Regions from separate parts of the Homo sapiens genome. Here regions 1 and 2 are each linked to region 3. Evidence: promoter capture Hi-C in 16 types of primary human blood cells and fetal thymus (Javierre and others, 2016). All regions are on one chromosome and are shown on one strand. Each heading gives the region's core, a stretch centred on a gene start or on the middle of the fragment in contact. The rest is flanking DNA. Distances are from core to core; before and after follow the strand shown.

The links. The method cuts DNA at HindIII sites, captures the fragments that hold promoters and counts their contacts. A CHiCAGO score of 5 or more calls a contact.
Region 1: a fragment that was not itself captured here is called in contact with the fragment with the promoter of HOXD13 in region 3 in 2 of 17 cell types (naive B cells and total B cells); the score reaches 6.3 in naive B cells.
Region 2: a contact is called between a fragment that was not itself captured here and the fragment with the promoter of HOXD13 in region 3, in 6 of 17 cell types (total B cells, naive B cells, total CD4 T cells and 3 more). The highest score is 31.5, in total B cells.

The regions. Positions count from the first base shown.
Region 1 is chr2:172,069,826-172,072,525 of GRCh38, forward strand. It overlaps METAP1D (methionyl aminopeptidase type 1D, mitochondrial), which reads left to right. Exons shown (of 10, transcript NM_199227.3): 6 at 1,082-1,245. Among named protein-coding and RNA genes, the nearest start is that of DLX1, 14 kb to the right of the region's middle. RefSeq lists an enhancer at 1,966-2,700. The HindIII fragment of the contact is 1,811 bases long and covers 402-2,212 here.
Region 2 is chr2:172,086,057-172,088,756 of GRCh38, forward strand. It overlaps DLX1 (distal-less homeobox 1), which reads left to right. Exons shown (of 3, transcript NM_178120.5): 2 at 598-797; 3 at 1,947-2,700. The coding sequence ends at 2,201. Among named protein-coding and RNA genes, the nearest start is that of DLX1, 1.9 kb to the left of the region's middle. RefSeq lists enhancers at 1-322, 937-1,548, 2,162-2,700. The HindIII fragment of the contact is 3,945 bases long and covers 1-2,700 here.
Region 3 is chr2:176,091,213-176,094,141 of GRCh38, forward strand. HOXD13 (homeobox D13) reads left to right here and starts at 1,509. Exons shown (of 2, transcript NM_000523.4): 1 at 1,509-2,459. The coding sequence starts at 1,679. The HindIII fragment of the contact is 2,791 bases long and covers 45-2,835 here.

The DNA.
Region 1 (2,700 bases), core at 57-2,556, 4.0 Mb before region 3:
GAATTATAAACTGAAGATCTAATAAAGACCTTTCTTGCTTCCTTCACAGAATATGAGAGCATTTTTTAAGAAATGCAGAGTAGTATACAGATTTAAGACATTAATTCAGTATCACAACAGACTGAAAGCTCATATAAACATCTTTTTTATAACAGTTTCTACATTCTACCTTATGAGCAAGAGAAATGTGAAAAATAATTAGATAGGACAAATTTATGCAAAGTAGCAAATTCCATGCTACATCAAAGGATCAGTATCCAAACAGTTGCCTCTGCCTTTTATATTTACTATAGTGCTTGGTTATCAATGATTTATAATGAATCTGGTATCTTTCAAGATCCTACTTGGCTTCTGAATCACTGAAGACTGATAAAATTATACTTTCTGTAATTGTGCTTTTAAGCTTGTTTTATTATATTCTAATTCTTTAGATATCCATATATAGTGCTTTCTGTTAACGTTCGGCTGTCTGGAACATTTGATTAAGATTTCACTTCTAGACATAGGATTTTTCTGTAACACATTTCATTCCTATATGGAACCACTTCAATTCTTAGAACTGAATTCTCCTATTTGTTTGTTAGAATACAGACATGTCTATCTTACTTCTTCTTGTCATTATATATCACTTCAAATGTAGAACTGGTAAATACAAAATCAAGTAAGTCTTCATGACATTGAAGAAACTTTTCACTATGTTAAATACTTTTTGGTTCTCTAAACCTGTTGTGGTAATTGTAGATCAAGGTCTTTGGCTACTAATTTTTGCTTATATAATTTTGTCTTCTCAGAAATAAAGTGAGGAATCAAAATATTACAGTAGTATTGTTCATCATAATGCTGAAATAACCATACTAGTTAACATAGTTGTTTTTAAATTTTGCAATATCATTGCATGGCTTCATCTTTTAAATTTCTGCAAGGTTTCAATATATCTATTTCTTCTTTTTTTGATAGGCAAATGAATAATTCTGGAAGGGTAAAACATGAGTCTACTAAATACATAAATGAATACAATGTATACTTTAGGAAAGTAGATTTTTAAACAAGGACATATTTTTAAATTTCTGCTTATGTTTAGGTCTATTACAATGGCTACCATGGAGACACCTCTGAAACATTTTTGGTGGGCAATGTGGACGAATGTGGTAAAAAGTTAGTGGAGGTTGCCAGGAGGTGTAGAGATGAAGCAATTGCAGCTTGCAGAGCAGGGGCTCCCTTCTCTGTAATTGGAAACACAATCAGGTAAGCCTTACATTGACAAGTAAAGGGAGGGTTGGCAAATGGTACAAAGGTTATTGGTGGCTTGGTATAAAGTTGATGACATGTTTTATGATTCAGAACCATCATTTCAGTCTGATATCAGTATGTGAACTGCCAGGCTGCAATATTGTTCCCTGAGTTGAAAAAAAAAAAAGATTTTATAAAAATGAATTATACCAGGGTCAGCAAAGAAACTTATAGAAGGAGCAAGCAATATTTACATGGCTGCTTTTGTTTTAGCTTGACATACTGGTCTATAGTTTCCCTTTATTCAAAATCACACCAAATATGGAAGGGAGTACCTAAGAAGGGGATGAGCATCTCAACCCTGGGGTTTTTAATAAGACAGGAGAAAAACTAAATTTTATAAAGGAATGAAGTGAAATGTATTTCTGTGATATGAAGATAATAAAGTGTTAGTTCAAGCAAGCCTTACCTTTCAAATTGGTAGATTAACAAATAGCCTGAAACGGTGATCTTCTGTTCTTTTTTTGTCTGGTTCATTTTTCCTGTAAACCGTTGTTTATTTTTCACAGAGTATTCTATCCTTACTTTTTGAATGTATGTGTATGTGTGTTTTCTGAATTTAAGACTTTTCTTTATAATCTGTTACCTACTTTTAGGTCTTTTTTCCCCCATAACTGTTTTGAAGTAGACATGCCGAATATATGTTTTCATTTTAAAGTAATGCATTCTGTTAAAGATGATCACATCAGTGCCCTTTAAAGTACTGTTCTCATTAATATGAACCATTGAATACTTCCCATTTGTCTAAAGGATGGAAGGCTTAGTCACCTTGAAAAGATGCTGCCTTTTTTTCTTCGTAAGCCTTCAAATACTTTAAGAAAAAAGCCAGTAAAATATCAGTTAAATGTATTTATGGCTTTAAAAATATTGTAACAGTGTCTGAATCAAACTTTAGTAAAATCTCTTTGGGTTATATCTGAGAAGCTTTTATTGAAGACTTTGAACAAAATTGTGTTTTTGACAGTTTTAAATTATAGGCTAACTAGCCTGGGAAAAAAGGATAGTGTCTCTCTGTTCTTTCATAGGAAATGTTGAATCAGACCCCTACTGGGAAAAGAAATTTAATGCATATCTCACTATCTTACTGTCCATGAATATAATAGAAATGAATTCAAAATGCAGTTTTATTTTTGCAAATGGGATGAGTCGATAGATGCACCTCATATTTTTGAACACCTAGGGTTCAACAAATTTACTGGTGGTGCTCTTGCATTTTAACAAAATTTATTCTTCAGTAGAAGGGGGCAGAGAACACTAGATTCTTATTCAAGCATTCTATCGAGCTCTGCATTCATGGCTGTGTCTAAAGGGCATGTCAGCCTTTGATTCTCTCTGAGAGGTAATTATCCTTTTCCTGTCACGGAACAACAAATGATAGCTAACTACAGAGGCACATTTGCAGTAGTCACA
Region 2 (2,700 bases), core at 147-2,646, 4.0 Mb before region 3:
GGAGAAGAGGAGAGGGAGAGAGAGAGAAAGAGAAGAGAGGAGAGCGAGGTGGGGTGGGGGTGGGGAGGGCGCGGGAGCAGTGGAGGTTTCGAATATCAATCTATAGATCCTTGTCACAGCAAATAAATTTTTTTAAAAATTCCCTCAATTTGCAACTATCCAGCCAAGGATAAATCCCAGAGCGTCTCCTGGCACTGGCTGGGCCTCTGGGCGGCTCGGTGTGCAGAGCACACAATGCCCCGCTGGAAAACAGAAACCCACATGTGCACGTATTAGTCTCGGTAATTATTTATTGCGTAGCGCTATAAACAATGTATGCAATTAAGGGTAATTAAACCTCAACTACCGCCTGCAAAAATAGCAAACTTTCCCTGCAAAGGCAGGAGCTGAGCTCCTGGGAACGGCTCTATCCCTCCTGCAGCGTCCCGGGACAGGCCCTCGGATTTTGGGGGACCCTTCCCTGGCTTTCAGAGTTTCTTGAACGTTCTCTCCCTGGTGCTGCCTCCGCCACCCTTCGGTAGCCACTCGCTCTCGGCTGTTCGCACTAAAGGCGGCCCCTCGTATTAACAACGGGCCCTACTTCTGCTGTCCCTCCAGGGGCGGACTCGGAGAAGAGCACGGTGGTGGAAGGCGGTGAAGTGCGCTTCAATGGCAAGGGAAAAAAGATCCGTAAACCCAGGACGATTTATTCCAGTTTGCAGTTGCAGGCTTTGAACCGGAGGTTCCAGCAAACTCAGTACCTAGCTCTGCCGGAGAGGGCGGAGCTCGCGGCCTCTTTGGGACTCACACAGACTCAGGTACCTCGCCGCTGCCGCTCCGTTCTGCCACGCAGGCTTTCCGCGGCCGGCCTGCGCCCGGGTCTTCATTTGTTGCTCGCTGGGACTCAGGGTCGGGGTGTCACTGTGTGTATGTGTTTGTGTCCACCCCTGGCTCTCAGCGTGTCTCCTTCCTCCCTCATTCCCTCTGCCCTAGCTCTGTCACTGCTCTCGGTATCCCGAGCTGCCTGCCGTCCGGCCCTCTGTCCCTGGACAATCTGATTAGGGCGCAGGAAGGATTTCCCCAGACGATTTGTTTGGGAACTCAGAGGTCACACGTGCCTAAACAACTGGAACAATAGACTCCGGGCTTAATCCCTCCTTTGCCTTTAAATTGTGTGACTAATCACTCGGGGCCTGGGTCCGCGCCTCAGCCTCCCTCCTCCTCCTCCTTCTTACCGGTTGGGGGTGGGGGGAGATCCTTTCCTCCGCCCTCTCACCTCTCAAGTCCCAGACCTTAGAGAAGAAACGGGACCTTCCTTCCCGGCTTTCTGTAAGACTCCGGGGAGCCCGTGAGCGTTCCTGACGGCGGCGGGCGCGGGTTTCCGACGTCCGGTCCGGGATTTGGAGCAGAGCTGGAGAAAGCAAACAGACACTAGTGCAAGAATGGTTTTGAATCCAAAGAGAAGTTCAGCAAAACCTTGAGGCCTCCTTAGTCCGTCCCAACTCAAGGGCAGAAAAGATGGCGCATAGAAAAGTTGGGTCGCGTTGCAAATAAATTTCCTCCACTCCTTCCTAGGTTTTCGATTCTTTTTATTGATGTTGATATTGGAATTGCTGGCTCGGTGTTATGCAGGCGCTGTATCTTCCGCAGGCGGTAGCCACGGTCGGACTGAGCCCCTGGCAGGCTAAGGCCTGGATCCCGGTTCTCCCCTCATCACAACTCCTCCCTGGCTCTCTGAGAGCTGCCCCCGTGGGCTGACGGCGGCGGGAGGTTCGGCCTTCGAGCCTTTGGCTCTTATGGGGGAAGGGAGGAAGGAGGGATGTCTCTGCTTCTCTGGCAGGGAGCTGCCAGCTGGCGCAGGGTTGGGAGGTCCTATCTCTGCTGTTCTGCGGTCCCTTTTTTCCTCCCTGTGACCTAGGTAGGCTCAGTGGTCCCAGCCTGAGTCACGTTGTTGTCCGCTCTTGCAGGTCAAGATCTGGTTCCAAAACAAGCGATCCAAGTTCAAGAAGCTGATGAAGCAGGGTGGGGCGGCTCTGGAGGGTAGTGCGTTGGCCAACGGTCGGGCCCTGTCTGCTGGCTCCCCACCCGTGCCGCCCGGCTGGAACCCTAACTCTTCATCCGGGAAGGGCTCAGGAGGAAACGCGGGCTCCTATATCCCCAGCTACACATCGTGGTACCCTTCAGCGCACCAAGAAGCTATGCAGCAACCCCAACTTATGTGAGGTTGCCCGCCCGTCTCCTTCTTGTCTCCCCGGCCCAGGTCCCTCCCGCCTCCAGGTCCATCCATCCCGTCCGGAAAAGAAGGACCCAGAGGGAAGAAGGAACAGTGGAGGCGGGACGCCCTCCATCTCCTCGGAGCCCCGCGAGGTCCGGCCCAGCAACTTCCCGGCATCCGCGCTCTAGCCTGAACCCTGGCCTGGGCCGAGCAGTGGCAGCAGAGAGTGGCCTCGGAGGGAAGCCACTGCCACCTGAGACAGCCCAAGCAGCAAGATAAACCCGCTCCACCCGACCCGCCGACCTTCAGCTTTGTGGGACTATCAGGAAAAAACAAAACAAAAACAAAATGTAGAAAAAGCAAAAGCTCTTTTCTGTCCTGTCAGTCTCCTGTCTCCTTTTGCTCTGTCTGTGCGCTGGTAAAGTCCAGGTCCTCATCCGTCCGCTGTCCTCATTCTGCGGCCTCAGCAAAAAGCCACAAGGTCTGAGCGGCCCGGGTCCTGCCGG
Region 3 (2,929 bases), core at 259-2,758:
TACTCAGGGCATCTTTGGTCGGGGAACAGTGGTGCTGGGTGACAAGCTTTCACCAATCACAGGCTTAGGGGAGTGATTTTCTTGGAGATGGGCTGGCTTGGGGAGTGCATGCCACAGAACCAAATGGGCTCTGAAGGATCCCATATCCACCCCCAGAACCCTGGGCTCATTGGATCTAATATTGTTCCTAAGGCAGAGCCCCAAAGTCACAGCAGGACTCTCATTGGTGCCCCATTAGTTGCTGAGATTGAGGGATGGTGGGCTGGAGCTCTGAGGCTGAGGAGCAACAGAAAGGGATGATGAGGGACAGGGCTGTAATCCCTAACACCCTGGCAGCTTGGTTCCAGAGCTGGACCTAGCCCCACCAGCACTGCCCTGAGCCCACCTAACCCCTTGAAGTCAGACCGTTTCTCTGGGCTGCTCCTATCACAAAATCCGAATTTGCTTGGAACAAGCGCCCTCTTAATTTGCCCCTCTCAGTTCTCTGCAGTTGACAGCTTGGAAAAGGAAGCGAAACAAAGGTCCCTGGGAAAGTGAAGTTTTCAATTAATTTGGTGTGAGAAACGGGCGGGAGTGGGTGGTGACTGCAAAATGCGAGGCCGGTCGGCTGCTGGAGAGACACAGAAGTTTCACGGTGGGAGGCTGAGTGGCTTTCTCCCCCGGCGCCGTTCTCAGGGTCTTTCTGCGGGTCGAAGAAGGACCCGCGGGAGCTGAGAGGCCCAGGTCGGAAGCACTCCCGGCTGGCCCAAGAGTAGAGGCGAAGAGCGTTGAGTAGGCATCCATGGACTTTTCTTTCTGGGACAGATTGTCAGGCTCACTGCGCCGATGCCTGTCTTTCATCTGTTTAAGTCTCTGCCGCCAGCCCCAAGGGCGCTTCATGGGCATTTTCCGAACGGACAGCGTGTGTGTATAGGAAGGGTCTGCTCCAATGCCTCTTACCTGTGTGAAATGCCTTTGCCGGGTACCAGTGCACAAGGTAGGGCAAATTAGCTCACTCGGATTTGGGGTCTAGAAGTCGACTAACTGAGGGATTCAGCAACAGGATAAAAAAATGGGCCTGTTTTCACATCATTCTGATCATCTCTGTCCTTCGTCTTCATTTTGCTGTGCAACTCGGGGAGCCGAGGAGAGGTGGCAAAAACAGCGGTTGCCGAGACAAGGCGCAGGCCTTGGCGCCCGCCTCAGTCGCAGACAGGGCCTGGGATGGGCCGTCGCGCAATCAACTCGTGGGGGTGGCTGCAGCGCGTACGCCTGGGTCGGGGGGGAGGGCGGGAATGGGAGGTGGACCCTGCAAGGGGCAGGAGAGGGGTGGGGGCCGGAGTGGGTGGGTCCAGCCAGGCCTGGGCCGGGAGCCAGGCTCCCCCGCGTTCCTACCCCCACGTGGCCGCGCGCAGCCAATGGCACGCCCCCGGCGGGGGCCCTCGGGGCGGGAGGCGGCCCCCCGACCGGCCCAGGCCCCCTCCCAACCTGAACTTCGTTTTTATAAACGTCCCGCGATGAGCTAACCTGTTGGAGGGCAGGCGGGCCGGAGGCGGGAGGCTCACAGAGGGAGAGAGGGCTAGAGGAAGAGGGCGGGAGCGAGCGAACCAGAGAGAAAGGAGAGGAGGGAGGAGGCGCGCCGCGCCATGGTGTCCTGCGCGGGGCCAGGGCCAGGGCCGGGGCCGGGCCAGGCCGGGCCATGAGCCGCGCCGGGAGCTGGGACATGGACGGGCTGCGGGCAGACGGCGGGGGCGCCGGTGGCGCCCCGGCCTCTTCCTCCTCCTCATCGGTGGCGGCGGCGGCGGCGTCAGGCCAGTGCCGCGGCTTTCTCTCCGCGCCTGTGTTCGCCGGGACGCATTCGGGGCGGGCGGCGGCGGCGGCAGCGGCGGCTGCGGCGGCGGCGGCGGCAGCCTCCGGCTTTGCGTACCCCGGGACCTCTGAGCGCACGGGCTCTTCCTCGTCGTCGTCCTCTTCTGCCGTTGTAGCGGCGCGCCCGGAGGCTCCCCCAGCCAAAGAGTGCCCAGCACCCACGCCTGCAGCGGCCGCTGCAGCGCCCCCGAGCGCTCCAGCGCTGGGCTACGGCTACCACTTCGGCAACGGCTACTACAGCTGCCGTATGTCGCACGGCGTGGGCTTACAGCAGAATGCGCTCAAGTCATCGCCGCACGCCTCGCTGGGAGGCTTTCCCGTGGAGAAGTACATGGACGTGTCAGGCCTGGCGAGCAGCAGCGTACCGGCCAACGAGGTGCCAGCGCGAGCCAAGGAGGTATCCTTCTACCAGGGCTATACGAGCCCTTACCAGCACGTGCCCGGCTATATCGACATGGTGTCCACTTTCGGCTCCGGGGAGCCTCGGCACGAGGCCTACATCTCCATGGAGGGGTACCAGTCCTGGACGCTGGCTAACGGGTGGAACAGCCAGGTGTACTGCACCAAGGACCAGCCACAGGGGTCCCACTTTTGGAAATCTTCCTTTCCAGGTAGGGGCGATGGAGAAAAGGGACCGACACGAGGGAGGGGGAGAGAGAAGGAGAAAAGAAAGGACTAAGAGTATGCGCCCCTACTTGGGAGTGGGAGTTGTGCCTGTGCTCCACACGTGACCAGGGTTAACCCAGTGGAAATTTGTCCAGTTCGTGTGAAATCTGTAAATTCCTCCTCTGATTTCAACTGCCTCCGTCACTGCCCTTTCTTTCCTGTGTGCAGCGCAGACACGTTTTTCTCCTAAAGTTGAGAGTCTCTGCGTGCCCTTTCCTTGGGCCTCTCCCTTTTCTCCTAAAGAGAACTTTTTCCTAAGAAACCTGACAGAGTTGGGTCCCCCCATTTTCAAAGACATCACTGCCCCAAGATGACTACTAAAGCTTGTTAGATCAAGCTCACGAACTCCTAACATAGGAACGCGGGAAATCAAAATTTGAGCAAAAGACCTGAGTTGGTATGTGTCTATGTATGT